Linked DNA regions of Homo sapiens: all the other regions are linked to region 2. Evidence: promoter capture Hi-C in 16 types of primary human blood cells and fetal thymus (Javierre and others, 2016). All regions are on one chromosome and are shown on one strand. Each heading gives the region's core, a stretch centred on a gene start or on the middle of the fragment in contact. The rest is flanking DNA. Distances are from core to core; before and after follow the strand shown. Region 1 has its middle 4.1 kb from the start of SCARB2. Region 2 holds the start of SDAD1 (SDA1 domain containing 1). Region 3 overlaps NUP54 (nucleoporin 54). Region 4 overlaps SCARB2 (scavenger receptor class B member 2).

Evidence for each region. Contacts are between HindIII fragments. The CHiCAGO score rates a contact against its expected background, and 5 or more counts as called.
Region 1: a contact is called between a fragment that was not itself captured here and the fragment with the promoter of SDAD1 in region 2, in 2 of 17 cell types (non-activated CD4 T cells and monocytes). The highest score is 6.2, in non-activated CD4 T cells.
Region 3: a fragment that was not itself captured here is called in contact with the fragment with the promoter of SDAD1 in region 2 in 1 of 17 cell types (M2 macrophages); the score reaches 6.9 in M2 macrophages.
Region 4: a contact is called between a fragment that was not itself captured here and the fragment with the promoter of SDAD1 in region 2, in 1 of 17 cell types (total CD8 T cells). The highest score is 5.6, in total CD8 T cells.

What each region holds. Positions count from the first base shown.
Region 1 is chr4:76,216,281-76,219,567 of GRCh38, forward strand. It overlaps a transcript of SCARB2 not described here and a transcript of FAM47E not described here. Among named protein-coding and RNA genes, the nearest start is that of SCARB2, 4.1 kb to the left of the region's middle. The HindIII fragment of the contact is 2,409 bases long and covers 731-3,139 here.
Region 2 is chr4:75,989,183-75,992,613 of GRCh38, forward strand. SDAD1 (SDA1 domain containing 1) reads right to left here and starts at 1,763. Exons shown (of 22, transcript NM_018115.4): 1 at 1,570-1,763. The coding sequence starts at 1,659. All of the region lies in intron 1 of SDAD1-AS1 (SDAD1 antisense RNA 1), which reads left to right. The HindIII fragment of the contact is 958 bases long and covers 1,634-2,591 here.
Region 3 is chr4:76,123,625-76,127,177 of GRCh38, forward strand. NUP54 (nucleoporin 54) reads right to left here. Exons shown (of 12, transcript NM_017426.4): 9 at 1,025-1,132. Among named protein-coding and RNA genes, the nearest start is that of NUP54, 23 kb to the right of the region's middle. The HindIII fragment of the contact is 1,060 bases long and covers 754-1,813 here.
Region 4 is chr4:76,177,593-76,180,854 of GRCh38, forward strand. It overlaps SCARB2 (scavenger receptor class B member 2), which reads right to left. Exons shown (of 12, transcript NM_005506.4): 4 at 1,925-2,113. Among named protein-coding and RNA genes, the nearest start is that of NUP54, 31 kb to the left of the region's middle. RefSeq lists a silencer at 2,476-2,535. The HindIII fragment of the contact is 2,727 bases long and covers 1-2,696 here.

The sequences.
Region 1 (3,287 bases), core at 685-3,184, 230 kb after region 2:
TCCTGTCATCTATATGTCCTCTCCTTCCCTAACTAGAAAAAAAAATTTGGTAACTTGCCTGCCTAGGTACTTTGGCACTCAGAAGTTCATGCTCACACTGAACTTCCACCCCCTACTCTCTGACTGCTACAATCAGATTTTCTGTTTGCGGGCTCCATTCTGGAGGGCAAACTCCATAGGTACCCACTCCTCCCATCCCTGGACCACCAATCCCAGGGTACTCTTCCTTTTCATTGTTCATTGAGGTCCCTTCTTCTCTCTTGTCTGGGCCACCAGGACAGTAACAGACTGTGGGGATGGAGAGATGGAGACAAATTTGATAAATGTATCTTAGTGTGGGAGAGTTTCTAAACAAGGGTTTACAGCTCAAGTTGCCCTCAGTTTACCTGCTCTCTGAGGATCTCACTCTGTTTCCACTATGTCAGGCGGTTAGTAAGCCACTTCCCCTTTAAAACTCTGGACAAGCCGAATGAAAATCTCTTTCTTGGTTCTTCTTAACACAGCTGACCAGGCTAGCATTTTTAAATGTGTTAACATAAGACAGAACAAAAAGGACCTAATTACAGAAAATATAAACAGCTTTTAAGAAAATAATGTATGTTCCCAAAATAGCAGTCTGTGATCCCACAGTAATCTCTGTCTTATCACCGAGGCTGGCATAACTTTTTAGCAGCTGGCCTGGCTGTCTTTCTGTTCAGTTCCATCTTCTCTACCCACAGCTATGTTCAGAAGCTTTTGACACAAAGCCCCAAAATCCAGATTTAAGTTTCTCAATGCCCTTTGGGACTTCCTCCTCATTTCTGATCTATAGGACATGTCTGCACCGCTAATTGGCATTGTTAGTTTATTGCCACAGGATCATCTCACCCTATGAGAGACTTTGCCCTCTCATCCAGGGAGTAGCCCCTGCTTGCCAGCCACTAATAACCCTGAACACACTCTGGAGGGGCAGACAGCTTGGGAAGGGGTTACTGCTCCCAGAGTTTAGATGAGGAGGCTGATGCCAGGGCAGGGAGACAATCAGGACTCTTCCTGGTGACTTCTCTGCTATGGTTTGGATTTGTGTTCCCTCCAAATCTCATGTTGAAATTTGATCCCCAGTGTTGGAGGTGGGGCCTAATGGGAGGTGTTTGGGTCCTGAGGAGAGATTGTTCATGAATAGATTAATGCCTCCCTCAGGCATGAGTGAGTTGTCAGAGAGCGGGTTGTTGAAAAGAGCTGGCACCTCCTCCTTCTCTCTCTAGCTTCCTCTCTGCCCATGTGCCTCACACAGGTGTGCTCCCTTTCTGCCTTCCCAGGAGTGGAAGCAGCCTGAGGCCCTCATCCAATGCAGATGTCTGTGCCGTGCGTCTTGTCCAGCCTGCAGAACCATGAGCCAAATAAACCTCTTTTCACTACCCAATCTCAGGTATTGTTATAGCAACACAAACAGACAAGGGCGGAAAATGAGGAGACTGATGCTGTGGCAAGGAGATACGGTGATCTCTCTATACCTAAAATCAGAAGACTTTATCTGAGAAGAACAAGTACACTTAATGAATGATTGCTGGTGCCTGTTGAAATTATGCAATCATTCGGGACTTAGAAAAAGAGCTTTCTTCACAGACTCTAAGGGCTATCGAGGGGAAGCAAGAGGGCTCTTTGGGCTCTACCTTAAATTTAGAATGTTGATACTATACTCAAATGAGTTTAATGATGTAGTCATTGTATACTTTTATGTTCAAAGTGTTAATGTGTTAAATATAAACATTTAAAATACACCACAGGCCGGGCCAGGTGGCTCATGCCTGTAATCCCAGCATTTTGGGAAGCCAAGGCAGGAGAATCACTTGATCCCAGGAGTTTGAATGGAAATGGCCCTAGGCCTTGCCTACTTTGGGACAGGTCAGGCTCCAAGATACTTCTAAAAGTCTTGGCTTTCTTCTTATTGAAGGTGATCTATAAAATGTACCATCACACCCTAGTGATTTGACATATGTTATTCCTAAATGTTTGTGGGGCATCCTAAATCCTGAGCAATACAGCCTCCATAAGAAAAAATTACTCTCTCCTCCCTCCTCCCCTACCCATCATTCCAAAGTTCTTACATTACAGAACTGCTTTATGCAGATAGGCTTACATATCCCAGAGGAGAGCTCATATACCATTTATATTATATCACATGCACCTGTGCCAGGCCACAGGGACTCTCTGTGAAGTTACCCATGTCCCTGTCTACCGCCTCCTCCGATCAAGAAGACCTCATGGCTTCCTCATTATCATCTTTGCACCCCCAACTAGGGGAATCTTTTCCAGTTTGTTTTGGTTTGGTTTGGTTTTTATTTTGTTTGGGGTTATGGGAAAATGAGAATTCCCCTCTTCAAATTCTTATTTTCCTTTTTGTTCCCCTAATAATGCAGACTTATTGAAACACGGAACTAGGAGGAGATATCCTATTCACCTTTTTCTCTTCCCTTTCCTGAAAACACAAGCGTAGTGTTGTCTAACTAATAGAATGTGTGGTTGGAGGGCGAGGAGTCAGGAGATCAAAGAGGAGAAAAATATAGTGGGCAAAAAGGGTGAATATGTCAGCAATATTATCTGCTACTTGTACATAGTACTTGTACAAGCACTATGCTAGACAGTGGGCTTGCATTACTTCATTTACTCCTTACAATGCCCTATGATGTAGACATTCTATTTTAAGGATAAGGAAACTGAGGCACACAGAGATTGACTAAGTAGTCCAATGTTACTGGCCAGTAGGAAGCAAAGGTATTACTAAATCCAAGTCAGTCAGATGCTTTAGCCAGGCTCTTAACCCCTTAGCCACTGCTTGGGACTTCTGGCCTCATGCTTATTAAGAGTAAAAGGAAAGCAGTGAAAATTGCAAAAAATAAAAATAAAAATAAGCAATGGCACTGGAATACTCATGGTGACCTGGGCATCCAGGAGGGGCACAGGTTGGAATTAGTGTGTGTGGGAGACAATGCCTCTGCCTGAACCTGATGTTGAACTAGAATGGAGAGCCAGGAAGGAGTTGCCAGTCCGGTGGCCAAAAATATACTTTGCAATATATCTAATGTATATTCTGACGTGAAATGTATTCTAGTCTGTTCTCACTTGAGGTACTTTGATGGTACTTTCTAGAAGCAAATGAAGCTTGGGTTGGGTTTAAACTCACTGTGGCAAAGCCAGCATATTGTGAAATATCAAGGCTGTCTGATTTCCTGCATGTTGTGAAATCAGGGCTAAATAAACAACACGAGAGGTCACAGTTATTCTTTAATGATGTGTTCCATGGGGAG
Region 2 (3,431 bases), core at 513-3,012:
ACTACACTTTAGCTACACTGGCTTCTTCTCTGCTTTTTTTCCACCAGTAGCTTCTGCACTTTCTATTCCTTGTACCTAAAATGATGTTTACCTGCCTGGCTCAATATCATCATTGCAGAGCCACCTTCCCTGTTTACGGGGTCTAAATCAGAAGCCTCCAATTCTAACCTATTCCCATCCAGTTTTATTTTCTTCATAATCTCTACCATAATAAGTCTACACTCACTTGAATGTAAGTCCAAGAGAAGAATGCTTTCTTATCTGTCTTATTCATTACTGTACCCCAACGCCTACCTAGAATAACAACACACAGTAGTTATATGTGATTTTGCATATATACTTAAGTGAATTAAAGAAGTAGTTATTACCCCCTTCTTACATATTAAAATACCCACATAGGCTCAGCGATTAACCTGCTTCGGTTACACAACTGGTTAACAACAGTCAGCAGCAGGAGTTATCTAACGGAATTATATAGACTCTCAACTTACCACTTTCTTTGCGAATGGCTATACAATGCTTTAAGCATCTCAAAGCCTTGCCTATGTTACTTAACTTCTTGTACTTGTTTCCTACTCTTTATTTCCACTACCTTGATCCTTGGAGAGGCTTTCTCTACTGGTGACCTAAGCCACTGAGATTGCCATGTGTTAAAAAGCACTCATAAAATACATATATGTGAAAATTTAGGGGAGGAGGGAAGTGAGAAGGGCAATGAAAAAATAAGTAATTGTGTTAGCCACTGAACAAATCACAATCTGGTAGAAGCACAAACATGTAATTGCAGCAAATGCCTAGCAGAGATACCTGTTTAATGCCCGTCTGATAAATGAGTGTCTGAAGGAAGCACCTGTCAGATTAATATATCAAAAACCACTTTCGTTTTGTCGGTACTTGGTTCAAACACCCCTAATGTTCACAACTTACATGAGGTCAGTACACAAAGCCCATCACAATGAGGGCCTAATTTTTCAACCTAATCTTTTCCCGAAGCAAATTCTGACATCCGAGTCATGCCAGTCTCCGGTAAGTTTGAATCCTGGCTTAACTAAATATACTAAGCTCCCGAGTCTGTCCGTTGTGCTTGAGAAACCCCCCCCCCCCCTTTCCTGGCACAGTCCAGGGTACACAGCCTGCTCTCAGAAACGGACGTCAATCGAAAGCATTCTAACATACGATTCATCAAAGGTTACCGACTAATTCAAGTTTGGGATTTCTGAAAAGAGGCTGAGAAATCCGCGTGGAAGTTGGTGGTTGGGTGCGGCCCATTTCTCTCTCCACTTCCGTGCGGACGAAGAAAAATATCTTAAAACAAAATGAGGTTTTAAAGGTGTTTCAGCGGCAGCAGGGCAGGTAGAAAATCCAAAGGGGCAACAGATTTTCAAGAGGTGGGGAACGAACCCTAAGGCATGTCCCGTCCCCAACCCCTTCTCTCCTCTGGAGGGACCCCTGAACCTAACAGAAGAATAGGCGGCGAGCCTGGATCCCAGCCCCACTCCATGCTTTCCCGCACCGGCGTCTCAACCATCCACTATCCGGCCTCTAGCGTCTGCCGCGCCGCACTCCCACCTCCTCGATGTAGGCCGGCGGGTCTCGCTTGATTAGATTCTGTAACTGCGGCAGGTTGCTGGGAAGCTTGTTGTTGTTTCTGTTGGACATTTTGGCTGCAGACAGACTTCGCGGCGAGCAGTTTTAAAAAAACTCAGACGGCCGGCACCCCGCAATCCCTGCCAGCTGCAGCTTGGACTCGTGTTTCCGGGTATGACCGGAAATAGCGCATGGGACTCTAGGCAGGCGACACCTTAGCGGTTCCTAAAGCGAGCTATGCTACGGAAGCCTCAGAGTGTCAAAATTACTCTCGTTGCCAAAATACTCTGTGGTGTATTGGAGAGCCAGCCACCGCCGACCCGCCCCTCGCCCTTGGGCATATGCTACTACTTAATATTGCCTTGCGTTTCTGAAAGGATCTGAAATGTAAATTTTTTCACGTGTGTTAGCATGTATCGTCATTCCGACACCCATATGAAGCACATAAATGAGGATTAATCGTTTATTTTTAATCCCGCAGTCTAAAATTAGAAACTGACGCCTGTAATCCCAGCACTTTGGGAGGCCAAGGCGGGCCTGAGGTCGGGAGTTCGAGACCGGCCTGATCCACATGGAGAAACCCCGTCTCTACTAAAATTACAAAATTAGTCGAGCGTGGTGGCGCATGCCTGTAATCCCAGCTACTAGGGAGGCTGAGGCAGGAGAATCGCTTGAACACAGGAGGCGGAGATTGCGGTAAGCCGAGATTGCACCATTTCACTCCAGCCTGGGCAACAAGAGCGAAACTCCGTATAAAAAACAAAACAAAACAAAACAAAACTGAAAAGAACCGTGGCGCTAGATAACACTATTCCCTCTTAGGAGGAAAAAAGAGCAACGAGGGTCATATAAGTTAATGTGTATGATTTTAGATATGTTTTTATTTTGGTTTTGGTTGTTTCAACTTAGCGTGACCCATACAAGGGAAAAGAGGGCTGGATAAAATGTGATCATGTTGACCATTAATAAATGCAATTAATCGTTAAAATTCAACCATCGTTATAAGCTTTGTAAGCACTCCTCAGTCAGAGTTTTTAATTCAGATCCTGGTAATTCGAAGAGGAGAATACATTTCTACAATCTCAAGGTGTAAAAAATCAATAAGGGTTGAATGAATGAGGTAGGGTGTTGTGAATTAGAGAGAGAGAAAAAAAAACCTAATTACCCACCCTGTGCCAGGCACTATTCCAAGCACTTGTATTAACTTATTTAATCCTCAGAACAACCCTCTAAAATAGGTGCTATTGTTATCTACATTTTACAGAAGAGGAAACAAGCTCAGGGAAGTTGACTGCCTCAATTCATAGCCTGTGAGGAAGATGAGATTTCAATCTAGACAGTCTTGATTGTAACTACATGAGAAAAAACATAGCCTAACAGCTGGTAGCTGGTTGCTGGTCTGGCAAAATAGCCAGACAATAGGGTTCTGCTTAACCAAAGCAATTTTATAGAACGCCAACCTCATCTGTGACGATGATAAAATGAGCCCCAAACAAAACAACTCTGTAATCACACCTGCACACAAAATAAAGAATGCTTCACAAACCATGTTATTCAGCTGCTTTTGGAGAATGACTTATTTATTAATTATCAAATCAGTTACCTGTGAAGTTAAGAAATAAATGTCAGCAATAAATCTTTTTTAAAAAGCATAGATTTAAATTAAAATTTTTTGGCTAGGTTGTTTTAGTGAGGGCAAAAAAAGTATTCTCAAAACAAAATCTGGCTAAGTGTGGTAGCTCAAGCCTGTAATCCCAGAACTTTGGGAAGCCAAGGTGGGAGAACCACTTGAGCTGGGTAGTTCAAGACTAGCCTGGGCAATATAGTGAGACCCCATCTCTACC
Region 3 (3,553 bases), core at 34-2,533, 130 kb after region 2:
GCCTCAGCCTCCCAAGTAACTGGAACTACAGGCACAAGCAACCATGCCTGGCTGATTTTTTTGTATTTTAGTAGAGATGGGGTTTCACCGTGTTGCCCAGGCTGGTCTTGAACTCCTGAGCTCAGGCAATCCACTCACCTCGGCCTCCCAAAGTTCTAGGATTACAAGAGTGAGACACTGTGCCCGGCCCATGCAGTATCTTCTTATTCTGTTTTGTATATCTACGGTGATGCCTCTTTTCCCACTACTAATTTTGTATATTTTACTCTGTTTTTCCCTTCTTCCAGCTGATGAGATGCTTAGTAATTTTAACGGTCTTTTCAAAGAAACAGTTTTTTAATTTATTCTTTCCACTATTACATTTTTTAGTCTTTCACTAATTTCACATTTATCTTTCTTTCTTTTTAGTTTCTTTTGGCTTATCTTGATATTCCTTTTCTAATTTAACATGAGTACTAAGTTCCTTTATTTTTCACATTTGATTTTTTTAAATGAGAATTTTTTATGGCTGTAAGTTTTCCTCTGAGTACAGATTTTGCTGTTTCCCACTGGTTCTGGTATGTAATATTTCTGTTTTCATGATAGTTTATAATTTCAGTTGTTATTATTCTTTTAATTCCTCCTGTTAATTTGGAAATTCTATTGTTTTTCGACCATTATGGTTACACTCCTTTTTCTAGCACTCAAAAAATTTTCTGAACTATTTTATGAAACTATTTTATGAAATTTATGAGACATCAATAATCTCACAGAAGCTTCCCTTGCACTAAGATGCTTTATTTCTTCACTGCTTTCCCTCAAACTGTCACTAAAATACGAACTTTAGGATATTTTTATTCTCCTCACTCAAACCTATGAGACTTGTTTTCCAATTTCAAAGTTTTACTGAAAGAATTCGGTACTTGTAATTTCACATTATTCTTTCATTTTAGTATTTTTTTTTCTATTTTAAAAATCTATATTTAGTACATTATTTCACACACATAGTCTTATAAACACTGGGGGGGAAAATCCAAATTACTACCTGTAAAGTTCTATGGGAAAGATCCATGAGTTTCCTCTTGTATTGTGCAATTTTGGCTACAGATGTAGTTTGATTCTTTTGTAGCTCACTAATATCTTCAGATATGATCTGTTTAAAAAAAAATTGGGGGGGGGAGGGTTAATCAAATATCACAACTATTTATCAGTTACACCTGTATGGAAATTCTAATCTTGGGATAAGCCTGAGATTCATCTCTCAAAATATAAACTCTTTCCCTATAAATCTGTGCTTTATATTTCTTCCCTTTTTACATACCTAAAATTTTTTTAAAAGAATCATGCAAAGATATCTTTAGAGCTCTAGGAAATTTAGCAATGAGGCAATACATAGAAAAAATAAGCTGGGCGTGGTGGCTCACACCTGTAATCCCACCACTTTGGGAGGACGAGGCAGGCAAATTACTTAAGGTCAGGAGTTCAAGACCAGCCTGGCCAACATAGTGAAACCCCGTCTCTACTAAAAATACAAAGAAGTAGCTGGGTGTGGTGGCATGCACCTGTAATCCCAGCTACTTGGAAGGCTGATGCAGGAGAATCACTTAAACCTGGGGGATGGAGCCGAGATCGTGCCACTGCACTCCAGCCTGGGCAACAGAGTGAAACTCCATCTCACAGAAACAAAAAACAAAAAACAGAGTGAGACTCCATCACACACACACACACACACACACACACACACACACGGCTGGGCACAGTGGGTCACTCCTGTAATCCTAGCACTTTGGGAGGCCAAGGCAAGAGGAGTGCTTGAGACCAGGATTTTGAGACAAGCTTGGGCAAAATGGCAAGACCTTGTCTCTACAAAAAATATAAAAAATTAACCAGGTGTAGTGCTACATGCCTGTAATCCCAGCTCCTTAGGAGGCTGAGGTGGGAGGATCACTTGAGCCCAGGAGTTTGAGGTTGCAGTGAGCCGTGATCATGCCACTGCACTCCAGCATGGGCAAGAGGGAGAGGGAGAGGGGGAGAGGGGGAGAGGGGGAGAGGGAGAGAGGGGGAGAGAGGGAGAGAGGGAGAGGGAGAGAGGGAGAAGAGGGAGAAGAGGGAGAGAGGGGGAGAGAGAGGGAGAAGAGGGAGAGAGGGGGAGAGGGGGAGAGGGGGAGAGAGGGAGAGAGGGGGAGAGAGGGAGAGGGAGAGAGAGGGAGAAGAGGGAGAAAGGGGGAGAGAGGGAGAGAGGGAGAGAGGGGGAGGGGGAGGGAGAGAGAGAGACAGAGAGAGAGGGAGAGACCTATCTCAAAAGGAAAAAAAGAAAACACATACTTCAGAAATAATTAAGGAATCTGAAGTAACATGGAATACAGCCAACAACCAGGTCTGAGTGGAAAAAGTTAAGATGTGTAAGATGATATCTAGGGGGTGTCTTAATAGACAATTAGCCCTGTATCTAACTACTGACAGCAAGTACAGTACATTTCAACATTAACTGTTACAGAATACTTGGAGGGAGTAATCAGAGTGCAGAGGAAAAGGAATGATATTAATTATGCAGCAGGATACATTTTTATGCCTCTGGATCTTTGACTTGCTGTTTTACCTGACTGAAATCCCACTATTCTGCCTTAGGAAGTCTTAACCTTACAGGGTAGGTTAAAATCTCACTATTTTATTAAAGCATCCCAATCAGAATTAATCCCATAATTGTCTCTATCATAATTAATCATTCTATGCCACTGGCTTACATTTACATGTTACAAGAAAGAGGTTAAGATTGTGCAAGACATATTTTAGCACATCCACCTGCACACATCACCTTTTACAGAAACTTTCCAATGCCAGGCCATGCTGAAAGGACAAAATTAGGTGGCCATGTTTTATATTACAAAACCTAGGCAATCTCCCCATCCCAATTTTGAAAAATCACCAGGGTTTTTAGATACAAGAGTACTTACAACATTATTTTCTACCAGTAATAACTAAAAAAATTAGACATGTTATCAGCCACAGTATTTATTAACAAATACTAAAACCATCTAGGAATTGATCCAAGAAAGCCATCTAGGAATTGATCCAAGAAAGAACGCATGAGATTTTAAAAGGGAATATTTTAAAATTATTTTAAAGGACATAAAAGACTGCAAGGATTAAAGAGACATACCACATTCATGGATGAAATGATTTAATATTAAAATTCAATTCCCACAAATTAGTCTTTGCATTTAATGCAATTCCAACCATAATTCTAGCATTCTGACAAATTGATTCTAAAGTTTTTATGGAAGAATAAAGACCCATAAAGACCCAGAAAACTTTGAAAAGAAGAACCAAGATTAGAGATTCATGCTACTAGATATTAAGATACACTACAAAGCCATAAGACTAAAAAAATGTGGAATGGGTGGGTATAAGAACAGACCAACTGGCCAATGAAACATAAGAGAGGGTCTAGAAATAGATCACATATATATATGCAAACAGTGTAATTTAAATTCTTTGATAATCATTGAGGAATATCATATTTTTATAGGCAATATTAAAAATATAGGGCTGGGCGCAGTGGCTCACGCCTGTA
Region 4 (3,262 bases), core at 83-2,582, 190 kb after region 2:
TTCTAATAATAGCCAAGAAGGAACACAACCCAAATGTCCATCAACTGATAAATGGATAAGCAAAATGTGGTATATCTACACAACGGAATATTCCTCAGTTATAAAAAGGAATGGAACACTGATACATGCTACAACATGGATGAACCCTGACAACATTACACTAAATTTAAAAAGCAGACACAGAAGGGCATATATTATATGACTCCATTTATATGAGATGTCCAGAATATGCAAATTCACAGAGCCAGAAAGTAGATTAGTGGTTGCCAGGGCCTGGGAGAGTAAGACAGGAATAGGAGTGACTGCTAAGAGAGTATGCAGTTTCTTTTTTGGGATAATGAAAATGTTCTGGAATTAGCAGTAATGGTTGCACAACCTTGTGACTATACTAAGGACTACTGAATTGTACATTTTAAAATGGTAAATGTTATAGTAAGTGAATTATTTCTCAATAATAACAAATTTAAAAGCCTAAGTCCAGGACCAGGACCAATTATACCAGAATAGCTACACTGGAAGAAGACGGTATTAATATAGCCCTATTTTCAATTAAGGTTTCTTCAATTGTATATTCTCTCCAAGTTATACTTCTTAAGGGCACATACAGACACTACATTCCTAAAATTCTTTATTTGGGCATGTAGCTATGATTTCTCAGAAATAGCACAGGTAGTAGCTCCTCTATAATAATAGGAGTGAACAATTGTTGAGTATAATATTCCTGGCTCTGTTCTAAAATTTTTGCATGAATCATCTCATGAAATCCTCACAACCACATAAGATAGTGTGGCTATCAGTCTGGTGAATTCAATGATGTAAAAACAAAAAAAGTGAGTTATATAATGCAAATTATCTGAGAAACAGTGAGATATTAGCAACAAGATCTACTTGGCTGATGGATTGAAGCCACTGGGAACAAAAGGGCCTCGAGGGAACCTTTGCATAATATCTCTCAGTAGGAGGCTCTCCTGAAATTATTTCTAGAAGGGAGGTTCAGTCAGGGCTTGACAGGAAATCTGTGCTTCCTCTGGTCCTGTGAAGCTGTATTCCTCTGAGACAGGACCCTCTAGGGAACTCCTGCCTGGTCTGCTTCTCCCGAATGATGCATTCAGAGTTGGTGAGGCCCTACTTTTAGGACTCCTGTCTCTCACACATATAATTTTTTAAAACTTGCTCACAATTCTATTTTAACAATTTCTACGTTTTATATAACCTTGAAGGCCCAGGGACACAATTATTGCTGTTTGCCATAAAAACTGGAATGCTACAGGATTACATGAAGAGGGTAAGACTCTTGAACAGGCAGAGCCAGAAAACAGCTACAAATTTAAAGCTGAGGAGACCCATCACAATCCCAGAGCACACCCCTAATCTAATCCTCTTCCTGGGGTTATTTTATCTTTTACCAACTTCCCAACTATCCACTGCACTCCAGGGTTTTTGTTTTTGTTTTTGTTTTTGTTTTTTTTTTGGCTTTTTTAGACAGAGTCTTGCTCTGTCACCCTGGCTGGAGTACAGTGGTGTAATTTCAGCTCACTGCAACCTCTGCCTCCTGGGTTCATGCAACTTACCTGCCTCAGTCTCCTGAGTAGGTGAGATTACAGGTGTACATCACCACAGCTGGCTAATTTTTGTATTTTTAGTAGAGATAGAGTTTTGCCATGTTGGCCAGGCTGGTCTCAAAGTCTTAACCTCAAATGATCCACCCACCTCGGTCTCCCAAAGTCCTGGAATTACAGGCATTAGCCACCGCACCCGGCCTCAAGTTTTTTTTCTTTCCAAAAAACACTCCATTTTTCACACACTCTATAAGATAACTTAACTCTAGGCAATTTCTAGAAGAAACTCAAAGTTAATCTGGCTTGGGGTGCCCCAACCCACTGTCAGCTAAAAAAAGAGGTTCTGAAAAGAAAAATCTACTTACCTCATAGAATAGGCCAAAATAGGGAGAGATATCGGGCCTGAAAACATGGATAAGGGACAAGATTTCATCTTTGTAGCCCCAGAGCAATTCGTCAACTGTGTGAGTCACAAAGAGCTTCTGCTGATAGGCTTTCAACATGGCCTCGATGATCTCCCTGAGGAAGTGCACCTGGGACCACTCTATGACAGTCTGCGGAGCAGAGGTATATTAAGACAGCAGCATCCCCTCCAAAGCACCTCCATCCACTCTCTCCTACTACCCCATAGCAAAGGGGGTTGGAAATATAAATGTAAAGGTTGAGATTAAATAGCTGAAAAATCAGGCAGTGAGCTCCTTTCTGGCTGCATATGGAAGACAAAGCCTCTTCTCTGTCCTTTCCCAGTACTGCATTTTGTAAGTGTAATATTTACAAAGAGACCATTTGCAGGCTCTGAGTTATCCAGACACCACAAAAGGGGAAAAGCTCTTGTAAACATGTGGGCATCTTTGGCCACAAGGTGGCGCTACCTTCCGCCTAAGCAGGGCCAGAGGCTCATTATAAACCCGACCTACACCCCTGGGACTAGGTGGCAGGGACCTCATACTGTCTAGGTCCTGGGTCCATCATCAGTGTCCAGCTGCATATGGAGCGGTCACCTAGGGGTTAGGGTGGGAGAGTCGGCAGGGGTTGGTGTAGGTGAATTAGAATGTTTACTGGGCCAGCCCAGGAACAGTGGTTCACGCCTGGAGTCCCTGGCCGACACAGGAGGATCCCTGGAGCCCAGGAGGTAGAAGCTTCAGTGAGCTGTGATGGAGCCACTGACTGCACTCCAGCCTGGGCGACAGAGCAAGACCCTGTCTCAAAAAAAATTAATAATAAATAAATTAATTTAATTTAAAAAAAAAGAAAGTCTCATGGGTCTCAGTATAGAATAGATGTAGAATAGGTGTCGTTATTAGGTAGAATTACCATTATAAACAGAGCCCACTGAAATCACAGTAGGCTGCCAGTCTATTGATTTCTGGTGTCAATTTATGAATTTTGAGAGTATAAAATCCAACATAAAAATCTGAAGTAAGAAATGGTATACAAATTTCATTGCTAGAATTTCTGAATGAAAACAAGGGGCAAATAAACATTTTTAAAATTATTAGCTACCAAAAAATCCTAGGGGCATATTTATTTGCACAATTGCTAATCCTGAACACCCAGGAAGAAATTATGAAAACAAATCCTAAAATCTGAATTTTGTCATCATTTGAAAAGACCTTATTTGATACATCTTAGAAAAAAGTCCAAGATGTACTTTAAAGAAAAGAAAAGAAGTATTTTTCTTTTTATATATGTATATTTCAACA